Linked DNA regions of Homo sapiens: regions 1, 2, 3 and 5 are each linked to region 4. The links are contacts of gene promoters, found by promoter capture Hi-C in blood cells and fetal thymus (Javierre and others, 2016). All regions are on one chromosome and are shown on one strand. The core of a region is centred on a gene start or on the middle of the fragment in contact, and the rest is flanking DNA. Distances in the headings are between cores, read along the strand shown. Region 1 overlaps LMCD1-AS1 (LMCD1 antisense RNA 1). Region 2 overlaps LMCD1 (LIM and cysteine rich domains 1). Region 3 overlaps SETD5 (SET domain containing 5). Region 4 holds the start of EDEM1 (ER degradation enhancing alpha-mannosidase like protein 1). Region 5 overlaps LMCD1-AS1 (LMCD1 antisense RNA 1).

The links. Contacts are between HindIII fragments. The CHiCAGO score rates a contact against its expected background, and 5 or more counts as called.
Region 1: a contact is called between a fragment that was not itself captured here and the fragment with the promoter of EDEM1 in region 4, in 1 of 17 cell types (M0 macrophages). The highest score is 5.8, in M0 macrophages.
Region 2: a contact is called between a fragment that was not itself captured here and the fragment with the promoter of EDEM1 in region 4, in 1 of 17 cell types (endothelial precursors). The highest score is 9.0, in endothelial precursors.
Region 3: a contact is called between a fragment that was not itself captured here and the fragment with the promoter of EDEM1 in region 4, in 1 of 17 cell types (naive CD8 T cells). The highest score is 7.0, in naive CD8 T cells.
Region 5: a contact is called between a fragment that was not itself captured here and the fragment with the promoter of EDEM1 in region 4, in 2 of 17 cell types (total CD4 T cells and naive CD8 T cells). The highest score is 7.1, in total CD4 T cells.

Annotation. Positions count from the first base shown.
Region 1 is chr3:8,489,017-8,491,716 of GRCh38, reverse strand. The region is part of intron 3 of LMCD1-AS1 (LMCD1 antisense RNA 1); the gene reads left to right. Among named protein-coding and RNA genes, the nearest start is that of LMCD1-AS1, 11 kb to the left of the region's middle. The HindIII fragment of the contact is 181 bases long and covers 1,260-1,440 here.
Region 2 is chr3:8,507,481-8,510,180 of GRCh38, reverse strand. All of the region lies in intron 1 of LMCD1 (LIM and cysteine rich domains 1), which reads right to left. Among named protein-coding and RNA genes, the nearest start is that of LMCD1, 7.0 kb to the right of the region's middle. The HindIII fragment of the contact is 1,614 bases long and covers 622-2,235 here.
Region 3 is chr3:9,398,800-9,401,499 of GRCh38, reverse strand. All of the region lies in intron 1 of SETD5 (SET domain containing 5), which reads right to left. Among named protein-coding and RNA genes, the nearest start is that of SETD5, 2.5 kb to the right of the region's middle. The HindIII fragment of the contact is 571 bases long and covers 966-1,536 here.
Region 4 is chr3:5,186,357-5,189,056 of GRCh38, reverse strand. It overlaps EDEM1 (ER degradation enhancing alpha-mannosidase like protein 1), which reads right to left and starts at 1,350. Exons shown (of 12, transcript NM_014674.3): 1 at 743-1,350. The coding sequence starts at 1,251. RefSeq lists an enhancer at 362-411 and silencers at 562-851, 902-1,071, 1,312-1,721. The HindIII fragment of the contact is 7,598 bases long and covers 1-2,560 here.
Region 5 is chr3:8,346,439-8,349,138 of GRCh38, reverse strand. The region is part of intron 3 of LMCD1-AS1 (LMCD1 antisense RNA 1); the gene reads left to right. Among named protein-coding and RNA genes, the nearest start is that of LMCD1-AS1, 150 kb to the left of the region's middle. The HindIII fragment of the contact is 986 bases long and covers 935-1,920 here.

The DNA.
Region 1 (2,700 bases), core at 101-2,600, 3.3 Mb before region 4:
AACAGAGGGGCTGGGAGCTGGACAGAGCCTCAAAGGTATCGTATCCCCTAACTTTGTAGCATCCCAACAGGGTGTGCTTCCCTCTGCTTGGATGCTTTCCATGGCAAGCAGCTCATTTCCCCCACCCCCACCCCCTTTTTTTTTTTAACCAGCCAGTTCCAAGGACTTTTGGACAGCTCTGATTGTTAGAACGTTCTTCTTTACCTTGGGCTGACATCTGCTTTCCTGGGGCTGTCACCCTTCTGTGCTTTTCCAGCCTCTGGAATCTATTTGAAGGGCTCTCCCTTTCCCACATGATGACAGCTAATCTATTAGAAAGCTAGGATCATGCGCATGAGAGGCCTTCTCCTCCTCTCCTCTCCGTATTTTAGGCACTATGGTACTCTGCTTAAGTTTGATTCCACCATTATATTCCACTTTGTGGGCAGTGGCCCTCCCCTCCTATCTCAGTAAGCTGGTATGACCTGTAAGGGGGTAGAAGCTCCTGCTTTGGAGTCAGACAAATTTGGTTCAAATCCCTGGTTGGCTACTTACCATGATCCTCAATCCACCTATTATAAAATGGAGGCAATACTACCAACCTCATAGTCCTGGCACACAGATTAAATAACCAGCGTGCAGCCTAGTGCCTGGCATGGAGAAGGTGTTTGATACTTGGTAGCTGTATAATTATTTGCCAATTGCCAGGTAGTTAGCTATCATGTTTGGTTCTCTGAGAAACTCTTCCCAGTGACATTTAAGATTTTGCTCAGGCGGTCAGGAGATGGAGACCATCCTGGCTAACACGGTGAAACCCCGTCTCTACTAAAAATACAAAAAATTAGCCAGGCGTGGTGGCGGGCGCCTGTAGTCCCAGCTACTCGGGAGGCTGAGGCAGGAGAATGGCGTGAACCCGGGGGGCGGAGCTTGCAGTGAGCCGAGATCGCGCCGCTGCACTCCAGCCTGGGCGACAGAGCGAGACTCCGTCTCAAAAAAAAAAAAAAAAAGAGATTTTGCCCAGGCTGCATTTGGGAGTCCATTCTTCGCTTGTGACAAAAAATGGCATTAAATAATTGTTCCACTTATCACAACCACAGATTTTTAGGAGGAAAATAGGATAGTCAGCATGTTGCTCAATGGCCATTTTAGTTTGTTCACACAAGGCAGGTAATAATTTAAAAACATAATTTGGATTTTCTGTGGCTAACCATGCACATCCCAAGAGGCCCCTTGGGAATGCAGCAGAATGTCCAGACAGCCACGGGCAGAATTCCAAAGCTTCTGAAAGATGAGTGTGTTCGTGGCTGATGAACAAGGTATGAAGACACCAAATCCCCCTGACAAAGTCCAGCAATGCCTTGCTGCTGATCAGTCTTTCTGGAAAGACTGGATGAGCTCACCCAGAAGAAAAGAGTGGGTGGGAGATTTCAGGAAAGATTCTTACTTATCAGAAATTAAGCTTTAAAAGTTTTGGGCCTTCCTGTTGATTCTCCTAGCTTTTCTCACAACCCAAGACACATGGTTTAGCAATGACGTCATCTGACATGGATAGTCACACTGAAGTCAGAAGCTGTCAAACAGATCCTGGATTATGACGGAGGGTGGAAGGGATGTACAATTTGAGGGCCATGTGAGTGTGAAGTGAGTAATGCTTTGCAGTAGGGTGTTCCTCCCTATCCCATCATTGATGGGTAGCAAACACAGAATTAAACTCTTCGATATATTCAGAAATAGTTATTATGTGTTCCTCTAAAGACCTTACTATTTCCTAGGTAAAATTTACAATTCTGTAGTCCTACCTCTTGTCATGCTAGCAAACTACTTTTATATACTCCAGTTGAATATAAATGGCCAATTTCTATCATTTAGTTTGTTCTTTTTTTCATTGAATCACTCAGTTATTCAATCTGTGGAGCAGTCTTTCAGGCATTTAACAAATAACAATTGCACATCTCTTTCTGTATCAAGAGTTCTGCTGGGCATGCAGCAATGTAAAAAGACACACAGGATTCACTCTCTTGGGGAAGACAGATGTTAAACAAACAATTACAACAAAAGGTAATGAATGGGAGCATTGTGACAGGAAAAGAATGGGCCTTGAGGCAAGAAAAATTGAGTCTGGCTGGCGCTTATAGTTCTCTATTACCAAAAGTATCAGATTCCAGTGGCTTAACTTCTAGGACATCTAAATAAATAACTCCAAACACTCCTCCATTAGAAAGAGTAAGAGCTAACATTTGTGGAGCTCTTGCCATGTGGGTAGACACTGAGCCAAGCCCTTTACAAAGATAGTCACACTTAATCCTCCCAATAATCCTAGAGTTAGGGCCTCTGAGTACTCCCATTTCACAGATGAGGAAGCTGAAGCTCAAAGTGATTAAGCAACTTGTCTGTGGTCATGCCGAGCCAGGTGGCAGAGATGGGAGTTGAACTCTGGTCTCTCTGAGCTCCTGGTAATAACCATGAATGCTTGTCCCCCATCACATGCCTAGGAACTGGAAAAGCTGTGACAAAAGGCTTCGAGAACTCAGGAACTTCCTAGTTTACTCCCAAAGAGCCAGTAATCCTGCAGTGAGGCTCACAGCCCTTGGGTACAAGAGGAAGAATTGGGGTGACCAGGTCAGAGGGCATCTTAGGGTGAACTATGCTCCTGAGTCCCAGAAAGCATGAGAAAGGTTTTTCGGGAAGTTACTTATAACAGTAGAAAGAACGTTAGGCAAT
Region 2 (2,700 bases), core at 179-2,678, 3.3 Mb before region 4:
CGATGGTCAGCCTCATGAATCAGTACCTAGAAACGCCACTGAGTCATACAGCCCAAACAGATGCTCTCTTCTAAGGGCAGGTTTCTTATGAGGTCATTAGTCAGCCAAGAGCCCTTTCCCTATGCTCCTGCCCTTTGGTGTCCCTGACATCAGTACTGTGAAAAATACAACCCAAACATTCAGCTGCCTCTGAAAACATATGCTGAGCAAAGACAACTGGTCTACCACTGTATCGCTGTAGGAAGGCTGAGGGACCACTGGCTGCTGGTGGGACCTAAGAGCTGCCAATAGTCCCCCTTGCCTCAGCCTCCTTTTCACTCAGTGCCACTGGTGGTTTCTTCCCAAAGGCCCTATTTAAAATGTGACAACTGGGAGGACTACTACACTCATTCTACTGTTACACTGTAGGGATGACCAGAGTTGAGATGTGGCTCTGAAGGTGTGTGTCCTGGAAAATCTGAGGGTGGTTGGAAAAGGAAGGAGAGGTATGTGTGTGTGTTGGGGAGGGGAGAGGTCAAGGAACACAAAGACTCACAGAACACTGACATTATTTGGCCTGTCTCCTGCCTTATGAAAAATAAATTCTACCAGACTCAAGTTTACTTGGCAGGGATCAAAGCTTTCCTATTCATTGTCATGTATTCAGTACTTAGCACAGTGGCTGGCACATAACAGATGCTAAATAAATATTTGCTATATAAAGAAATGAGTGACTGTTGCCCTATCTTATAAGCAAGACATTGGAGGGAAAGACTGGTAATGGAGCAGGGGAGGGCTGCTATGGAAAGGGTAGCGACCAAACACCCAAGACGAATTGTGGCTATTCTCATGATTTTGCAATGTGATGTGGCCTGAGTATATTTATGGCTAGGTCCAAGTTTAACTACAAAGAGAAGGTCCTGCAGTCTGAGAGCTTAGAAGCCCCATGTGATGTAGGTAAACTGAATTTGGTCTTCCACATCCCAATACTTAATAACCTATGGGATTTTTGCATCATGCTGATGAGAGGGGGTATCCATAACAGCAGGAGGAAATGTTTATCAAGGGTATATTATGTATCCAGGCACTTTATGCACTTTACCTCATTAAACTATCGTTTAAATGTAGAACTACGGTGAGCTATCTTTCTCAAATGAGGAACCAGAGGTCCAGAGAGGATCAGTAACTTGGCGAAGTTTGCAGACCTGGCAAATTGAAGAGCTGCAGGTCACATCTAGATCTTTGTGCTTGCAAATGTTGTGTGTTTAACGGCTCCTCGAAGTGGCTTCTGGACCTTGTGGCCAAAGCTAAGTTCACAGCCAAAATGTCCACCTGAACTTCTGAGTTTCAAGGTATGAGGTTGACACAAAACTGGGATACTCTGGGGGTGGAAGTGACAGAATACAGCAGACACTCTTTTCTCCTTCATTCATAAAAGATGCTGTGAGTCAATGTATCTTGGTTGTGGCACCACTCATGTAAATGTAAGTTTGTAAATTTCAGATATGCCATTTCTTATGTAAAGTTCAGATGTGCCATTTTTTTCTTTGTAAATTTCAGATATGCCATTTCTCCCCCTGTCCCATTTGTGACATGAAGGGGTTGAATGAGCAGATAACAAGATTCTGCTCAGCTCTTTTAGACAATGGCTCATTAGCCTTTGTCTCCAGAGATAAATTTTACAAAGGATTCAATATTTTTTAAACAGGAGGAGGAGACAAAATCTATACACAAAGCATGTGGATTTGAAACAGCCACCTTGAGTTGGACACTGGCACTCCTTTGTCCTTCAATAGAGTTACTTGCCAAATGGAGCCTTTGTTTCTTCTCCCTTAGCAATTATATTTCCTTTTAAAGCATGTCCCGGTGGGGGCCCAGGCCATGTTTGGCTTGGTCATGATTTATATATTATTGGGTAGGCCATGGGTCAGGCTGACTAGACATGTAGAAATGCACATGTCAAGGCCAACCTTATCCCCAGGGCAGAGTTTCCTGAAAGCTCTGGGACAAGGTCTCTAGAATTATTTTTAGAGTATTAGGATAACATGTATTATTCTTTAAAAGGTCTCTCTACTAGTCTTCTGCCGGGAGATGTCCATTAGCCTTCTGGAAAACCAGGAGAAATCAAGAAAGTCTTTATTCTATACCCGAGAAATGGCTCTGATTTGGTGTAGGTGACAGTATACTCCTGGTGGTGACCAAGAGATATCAAAGAGATACAGGTGCCTAGCAACATTTTGCAAATGCTGGGAAGCTTCTGAACCAGACTATCAATGAGTTCAGTGGGCTGGAAGAAATTGATCTGTGTATGAAAGTCACAGTAATAATCATAGTCCCTCCTCACCAGATTTCTGCTTTCTACGAATGCCTTCTGTTTCTTGCAGAGTGAAAAGAACTGAAGTTTTGGAGTCAGAGAGGCCTGAGTTTGAGTTCTTAATCTGTCATTATGTGACCTTAGACAAGTCGTTTCAAACTCTTAGTCTTAACTTACTCATGTGTAAAAAAGGACACCAATATTTTTGCATGGTAGTCCTTGAAGCTAAAGAGCTAACACACAGGAAAATGTCAATCATCTCCGGACCCTTAGAGATGTCTTTCCTTCCTCTCTTTTGCCTAGCCCCAAACTTGCCTGTCCTAACAGAGAACAAGTCTGTTGGGAGGCAAGAATCCAAATAGATAATAAAAGTAAGAACAGACTCCTTTCTCTTTTCTGAGAAAAAA
Region 3 (2,700 bases), core at 2-2,501, 4.2 Mb before region 4:
GACACAAAACAGTATCAAAAGATATAAAAAAGTTTTCAAGGGTATAACTTAAGTAAATCCTTCTATGAAAAGGGCCTGTATGATCCTCTAAAAAATGATAATATCAAGAGCACAAAAGGTTCCAAACAACAGGAAATTCGAGTGTAAAAGCAATTATTTTATATAGCAACTTAAGCCACAGAGTAAAAAACTACAAACATTTTTATCTTAAACCCTAAGTATGTCAAACAGCCAGTATACATGAAATCATATTTATCTGCTATTGCATCTTATCTATGTGATAGTAATAAGAATTGGAACCTCCTAAAATAGTATCCATTAAAGGTTCTGTTTCATTGGTCTGCTTTTATTACTGGGAAAACAATGTGAGCCACATTTGTGAATGACAAAACTCATTTCCATTCTTTTTGGTTCTCTGCCACAAATGCCAGAGTGATACTACAAATTATAGATGTTTGTGAGATTTAAGTACATTTACACGAAAATGAACAAATCAAAATTCTGAGAGAAAAAAGTATAGGATACACGAGTCTTGGGGAAGAAAAACAGCACACAGGAATATGTCCAGTATTGCATATAATTGGTGGTGGTGGTTCTCCTTCAAGTTTTTCCACGCTCAGACTGTTTTGCTTAATCAGAGATCATCCTAATGTTCAGGAGTTGTGGGGGAGGGGAGATCACCTAAGGGGCTCAGAGGCCATCTTCTCAGTATCCTGAACTAGACTTATTCGATTTCTGCATATTTCTTCTGGTCTGTCCTACATTTCAGATGGATTATGGCCAAAGACATATATTTGTGATGTCAGAAGGCTATATCCAACATGTATATAATGAATCAATCTTATAAGTCAAACTCCAAAGAAAATATCTAATCTGGAGAAGTTTATTACTAATATACAAATTAAAAATATTTATTTAGAAACCACTCCAAAATGGCACCTTTTTAGAGTTTAAGAGTTCAAGCTTAGTAAAATGTTTAGCAAATCGTCTATAAGGTAAATGTGGTCTAATCGAAAGGATGGAGACACATAACAAAATAATAAGAATTGATTCTATGATTAAAGAGATGGAGGAAGGCATGATATGTGAGCTGCAGGAAAAAATTCCTGTTATTTTCTTCCTATTGTGGTTATCAGAAAGATTCTTAAAATTATTACTTGGGTTTTTAAACTGATTGAAAAATTAAAACTCTAATGGAACTTTTAGTCCTATCCAAGCACAAATGTCTAGATAAAAAACAAAAATCTGCCAAAAAACAAAAATCAAATCAAACAAACAAAAAAAGAAAGGCTTTAACCATGATCCAGTTTCCAGATGCCAATATCCATAAATGGGTAGGAGATTATGAATTACTAATTCCCATCTCCCCACCAATAAAAAGCAAACCAGCTCAGCAGTGAAAATTCCCAGAAAAGCAAGGTTTCTTCTTAGTCCTGAAGCAGCCATCGCCTAAGTGCTGCTCCCTGCAGCCAGCAGCATTAATGGACGCTGCACTGCTGTCCTTCCCTGGAGACAGCAGCCAGCACTACTCAAGCTTCTCACGTAGCAACCAGAGCTCCAGAGCCAGCAGCTGCTGCTGCCTTGTATACTCACCCCTGTGATCCAACCCAAAGGAACAACCTTCTCTTTACCCCACCCCCACTCCTTACACACACTTTTTTTTTTTTTTTTTGGACCAGTGCTCCATGCCAGAAGGGCTGGAATTATGCTTTTAAGAAAGAAACAATCCTAAGGTCACCCTTTTAAACCAAGGCCTTTTATTAGAAAAATCAACATTTACCAAATTCTAAATATCCATTTTAATTAAGCCAGCAGTTTAGGAGTGAAGATTAAGCTTTGGTCTTTTGAAAGCCAATTTCCCAAGCACTCTACAATCTAATTTAAATTTGCAGCTAGAAACAGAGCCTTGTGTCATGTCCTACCAAAGGGCATAATTCATTTTTCTACACATAATGACAGTCTGAGTAAACCTTAAAGACTCTAATCCCATAACAGGCCAGAATTTTTGGCTACAGAAGAGAACTAATGATCCTGAGAAAACTGGAAGAAATCCAATAGAAAAAAAAAAGCCCTACGTCCTCTATGGAGCCCAGAAACCTCTGATTACGTGGGTATTCTCTGCTTTAGTCCTAGCTCAGATCCCACACATCTAAAATTACCACTTAGAACTTTCTGTGACCTAAAAACATTAATAATATAAAATTAACAACCAAAAAATAATTTCAAATAGGGAGTACACACTCTCCTAAAAAGCTCAGCACACTCCACTCAGCTGGATCCTCCCCAATCACAAGTATAGCTATGTAACATCTGTCCAACAAAGAAATGTAAATATGACCTTGGTCACAAATATGTCATCTAAAAACTTGTTTAGTCAACTGATGAAGGTAATTAGCACAGAACTTGGGGATTCGTTCAGTACCTATGTGCAGGAAGGAAACTGGAGAAATGAACTTAAATATAGACAAAGCCCAGTGGAACCCAGAGGTCTGGGAAAGAAATGAGTTACCGGTGAATACATTGCACAAGTAACATGAGAAAGCAGAAAATGCAGGTCATACACGCACCCCTGACCCAGACCAGCAGAGCTGACTGCAGCATCCATATCCAAGAGAAAGACCACTGACGCCCAAGAAGTGAGACAAGCAAGGACTCTATAGAATCAATTAGCATAGAAGGGGCTTTCCCAACAGTTTAACT
Region 4 (2,700 bases), core at 101-2,600:
AGACTGCCTGACCTTCCCGGACAACCACGCCACCAGAGGCGGGGGATTTATAGACAGATCGTACAGGGCGATGACGTTGACAGTCAATCTGGCATCCAGTGAATTTCACCTCAAGTATCTGGACCCCAAAAGTGGGCCACATAGCTTCCCTCCCCACCACCTAACTATCCTCAGCCTAAGAAGCAGCCCCTGTGAAGGAGAGGCTGTAACCCCGTTCTGCCTCAAACTCAATGGACGGCTTTGGAGAAGTCAACTATAGGCTTTTTACATAGAAAAGACGTGGGTGTGGCAATGTGATAGAGGTGGGGGTGCGAGGTAAAGGCTTGTTCTGAGGCTGCGTTTACACGGGGGGCATGATGGAGATTTCATTTAGAGTTTATGCTCATCCGGAGGAAGGGGTCGGATGGAAGTGGAAAGCCCTCCAAGCCAGCCCTTGGCACTGCCACTGTCCCTTCTGGTCCTGGACCTCAGTATCCTCACGCGTAAGACACTGAGCTGGACAGCAGTTCTGAAGTTTGGAGATTCCGGGAGAATCAGGAGAGGAAGGCCACCGGCCCACCCCGCACCCTCAAGCTCGGGGGTCTTCACAGGGACTCACACGGGACAGGGCGCGGGAGCGCTGCCCGGGACCCTAACGGCCCTGGCGCCCTCGGGGGCCCCGGAGGACAGAGGGCTGCACCCCGGCGCGGAGGGCGGAAGGAAGCGCGTGGGCGCGCGGCCCCGGGCGGCGGGGGCTACTCACGGGTCCCCGCGGTCGGGCCCACGGCCGCGGCAGTGGATGGGGTTGAGCTCGTCCTGGGGGAAGGCGTGAGCCATGTAGTTGTCGTAGCCAAAGACGAACATGCCCCGTGCCAGGTCGCGCATCTGGGCACGCAGCTGCGGAGGGAAGGCGCCGCTGTAGCGCTTCTCGTACTCGTCCGGGCCGCGGCCCCGGCCGCCCAGCACGTAGCCCCAGTTGGCTGGGCCGCACATCCCCGGCCCAGGACGCCGCGGAGCCTTGCGCGGGCTCTGCGCTGCCCCGGTCCCCGGCGGCTGCAGCCACGACGGCCCGGATACCCCCCCAGGCCGGCCCACGGGCCCCGAGGTGGGCGACGCGGGGCCGTCGGGGCTCCTCAGACGCTGGAAGCCGAAGCTGAGCGGAAAGCGCTGGTAGAAGCCCATGCTGGGCCCCAGCCCGAAGACGAGCCACAATACTCCATGGAGGCCAAGCCGGAGGAGCACCAGCCCCAGGACGAGCGCTCGCCATTGCATGGTCGCGCGGGCGCCGCGGGCATTATTTTAAAGCGCGGGGGCCTCCCCGCCGACCACCGCACCCCGCGCTCGCCCCGTAGCCCGGCTCGCTTCCCCTTTAAGGAACTCCCCCGTGACGCACCAGGAACTAGCCCATCGTCCCCAACCCCCAGGCTCTCCGGCGGGCCGGCCAGGCCCCACGGTCGCCCGCCCAGTGGCCCGGGATTGGCCCGGCCTGGGCCCGGCCTCGCGGGGCGCGGCCCAGGACTCCCTCCCACGCAGTAGGCCGCCAGGACGTCCGCGACGCCCCGAGGCCCCGCCCCTCACCCGGGCCCCGCCCCAACTCCCAAGCCCCGCCCCCCTGGGCGGTCCGTAGCCCGATGGGCTGGCGTGGCGAGCAGGAGCCGCGCCGGCCCGCGAGGGAACTTCCAGCCAATGGGAGAGCGGCACGGCAGCGCCCGCCGGACGCTGGACACAGACGTGACCCCAGACCGCCTGGCCTTGGGTGGATCGGGTCTCTGGGCAGAGCGTGTGTCCGGCAGAGCTAGGACCGGAAAAAGCCACTCTAGGTCTAGGTTAGGAGTGATGACAGTTAAAAGATATATAAGGAAAAGAAGGAAAGGATCGTTTCTGTATAAAACGAGCTATTTTTGCATATCGAGCGCATAAGTTTTATAACTTAGGTGTCTGTTTATGGAGAGGGTGGGATACTACCTTTTAGCTCAAGGAGTGCACAAAACGGTATCATGAATTCTGCTCTTTTGATTCAAACACCCAACTTTGAAGAATCGCTCATGGTGCTTGTAAAACACGTATCCCCAGATCCCTCCCTAGACCTATCGAACAACTCCAACGGTCTCGGGAATGTGCGTGTAAGTACTCTTGGACAGTTCTTAGAAACTGGAAGTTTCAGGAAATACAAAGTTATGTTATATTGCTTTTGTCTCGGAAATAGGATTTTTTTAAAAGGGGGGGGCGGGTTGGGGGTGGGAATGAAGGCTCCCACCACCACCAAATTATTTACCAGATATATCTAAACATGTCTTCTCCTGTCCCTCCCATCCTACCATCTCTCCTGTGCACCCGCAATTAGTGACCTAACCTTTGAGGTGTGGGGTAGATTCCCAGTTAAATAACTTTACCCCTCTGTATCTACTTCCTATAATTAAGAAGATTGCAAATGTTAGCTCTAAAGGGCTATGGCTTTCACATAAAGATTCAATGGTTTAGGCGCTTATTTATTTTGCTTGCTGCATTTGGAGTTGGCTGTAAGTTTTGCCCTCCCTAAGTTTAGACCCTATGCCTGTTTCATCAGGGTTTCTGAAAAGCTTGGGAAGCAAGACCTGACTAGACCCCCAAATCTGATATTGGCTGAATGGCCGACCAATGGAGTGCATAAGAAGGTAAGTTGTCATGTGGCACTCTCATCACATTTTCAGGGTAGAGGACTTTCTGAAATACAGAGGAGGT
Region 5 (2,700 bases), core at 178-2,677, 3.2 Mb before region 4:
GACCTTGACCCTAATGATGAGATCTTAATCTTGCTATGCCTGAGGCCAGAGTAATCTGACTTTTCCATTGTTTGAGCCAATTCATTTCATTTATTGAGGTGAGCTGCTGTTATTTGTAGTATAACAAACTCTTGATGTCCCCCAGATCCAACAGCTAGTGAGTGTCAACATTTGAAATGAAATTTGCTTGGTGCTGTTTTGTGATACTTTGAATTGTTTTAAAATCTCTTGCAAAAACTTTCAACTTATTTTAAATCTGTAATTATAGAAAATAGACGACACTATACTGTCTCCTAAATACCCAATTTACCTAACTTCTCCTTTATCCTTGTTCACACCCTTACATTGTAGTTTGGGTCCTTTTTCACATCTCCCAGCCTTTTTTTTTTTTTTTTTTCTGGTCTTTTTTGTTTTTGTTGTTGTACTGTTTTTGTTTGTTTTGTTTTTAAAGCAAACAAATTAAAATAGGATGGCGTATAATACAATGCATGCATTTAAAAAGTACAATGTTATATACATGTGAAATGATAACCAAAATAAAGATAATGAACATGCACATGACCTACAAAAGTTTCCTTGCTCCTTTCATAATTCTTCCTCCCATCTGCCCTGACCCTATCCCCAGCAATCACTGGTCTGCTTTCTGGCACTATAAGCTACTTTTTATTTCCTAGAATTTTATGTAAACGAAATTATACATCATGCCCTCCTCTTTTTGGATTGCTTTCTTTCAAAGTGATTATTGTGAGGTTTATTCACATTTAGTGTATAACAGTAGTTCATTACTTTTTATTACTGTTGTATTCTATTGTGTAGATGTACCATGACTTGCTTATCTATTGATATATGTTGATGGGCATTTGGCTTGTTGCCAATTTTTATACATAAGGCCACTATAAACATCCACATATAAATCTTTGTGTGAGCATAAGCTTTCATTTATCTTGGGTAAATACTAGGAGTGGAGTGGCTGGAGCATATGGTAGGTATATGTTTAACTTTAAAAAGAACTGCCACACTGATTTCCAAAGTGGTTGTACCATTTTACATTCTGACCGTGAGAGTTCCAACTTATTTCATGTTCTCATCAGCACTGAGTATGGTCGATATTTAAAATGTTACCTGTCTTGCCAGGTGTATAGCGGCATCTCATAATTTTAACTTATGTTTCCCTAATAACCAGTGATATTACATATCCTGTGTGCTTATTTGCCATCCATACATTTTCTTTGGAAATAGTTTAGAAATCTTTGCCTAGTTTTAAAATCAGTTTTTTTTTTAAATTTCTGAATGTTGAGAGTTCTTTATGTATTTTGGAGACGTGTTCTTTATTATATATGTAATTTTCAAATATTTTCTCTCAGTCTGTGGTATGTCTTTTCATTCTCTTTTTATTTGAAAAGCTGACTTTTTTATTATTTAGGTGAAGTCTAATTTATCTTTTTGTTCTTTTATAACATGTGCTTTGGATGTTATATATATACAATTCTTATTTAACCCAGTGACAAAGGCTTTCTCTTCTGTTTTATTCTAGAAGTTTCATAGTTTTAAGTTTCACATCTAGATTTATGATACAGTTTAAGTTAAGTTTTGCATATGATGCAAAATGCAAATGCAATTCAGGGTATAAAGAATAGTCACTTAAACAAGTGGCACTGGAATAATTGGACACTTGGATGCCAAAACAACAAAAGGAGGATGTTGATTCATACTTCATTTATTGGGTGCTTTATAAATGTAAATATGAAGACCATTTAGGTAAAATTGATTGATAATGTTATTTAAGTCTATATCCTTACTAATTTTCTGTCTACTTGTTTTATCCGTTATTTTAAAATATTGAAGTCTATGATTATATTTGTGGATTGATTTGTTTGTCCCACGGTTGTAAAAAACTTTTGCTTCATGTTTTTTGAAGCTTACTTATAAGGTTTATAAACATTTAGGATTGTTTTATGATCTTGATGAATGACCCCTTTATTATGATGAAATGACATTTGCTGTCCACAATACTTTTCTTTTCTCTAACATTTACCTTCTCTGTCTAATATTAATAAAGCCATCATATGTTTCTTTTGATTAAGGCTAGCATGTCATATCTTTTTCATTCTTTTAATATTAACATATTTGTGTCTTATATTACAAGTGTGTTTATTGTAGGTAGCATATGGTTGTGTCTTGCATTTTTGTCCAATTTGAAATTGTCAGCTTTTTAATTAGGGTGTAACATTAAATGTAAGAGTAACACTTACATTTAATGTTATTATTGATATGCTTAAGTTTAAACTGTTATCTTGCCTTTTGTTTCCTATTTATCCCATATTGTCTTTGTTCCCCCTTGCTATGGTTTCTCAATATAGTTTGTCTCCACCAAAACTCATGTTGAAATTTGATCCTTAATGTGGTGGCATTAAGAGGTGGAGCCTAGTGGGAGGTGTTCAGTTATGGGGACAGATCCCTCATGAATGGCTTGGTATTGTTCTCATGGCTGCGAGTGAGTTTTCACTCTCTTGAGACTGTGTTAGTTCTCTTGGGAATGGATTAGTTCCTGGGAGAGTGATGTCACAAACCCAGGATGTCCCTCAGTTTTTTCTCTCTCTTCAGGTGTCCACTTCCCCTTTGACCTTCTTTGCCATGTTATGATGCAACACAAAAGCTCTCAGCAGAGGCCAGGGACATACCCTTGAACTTCTTAGCTTG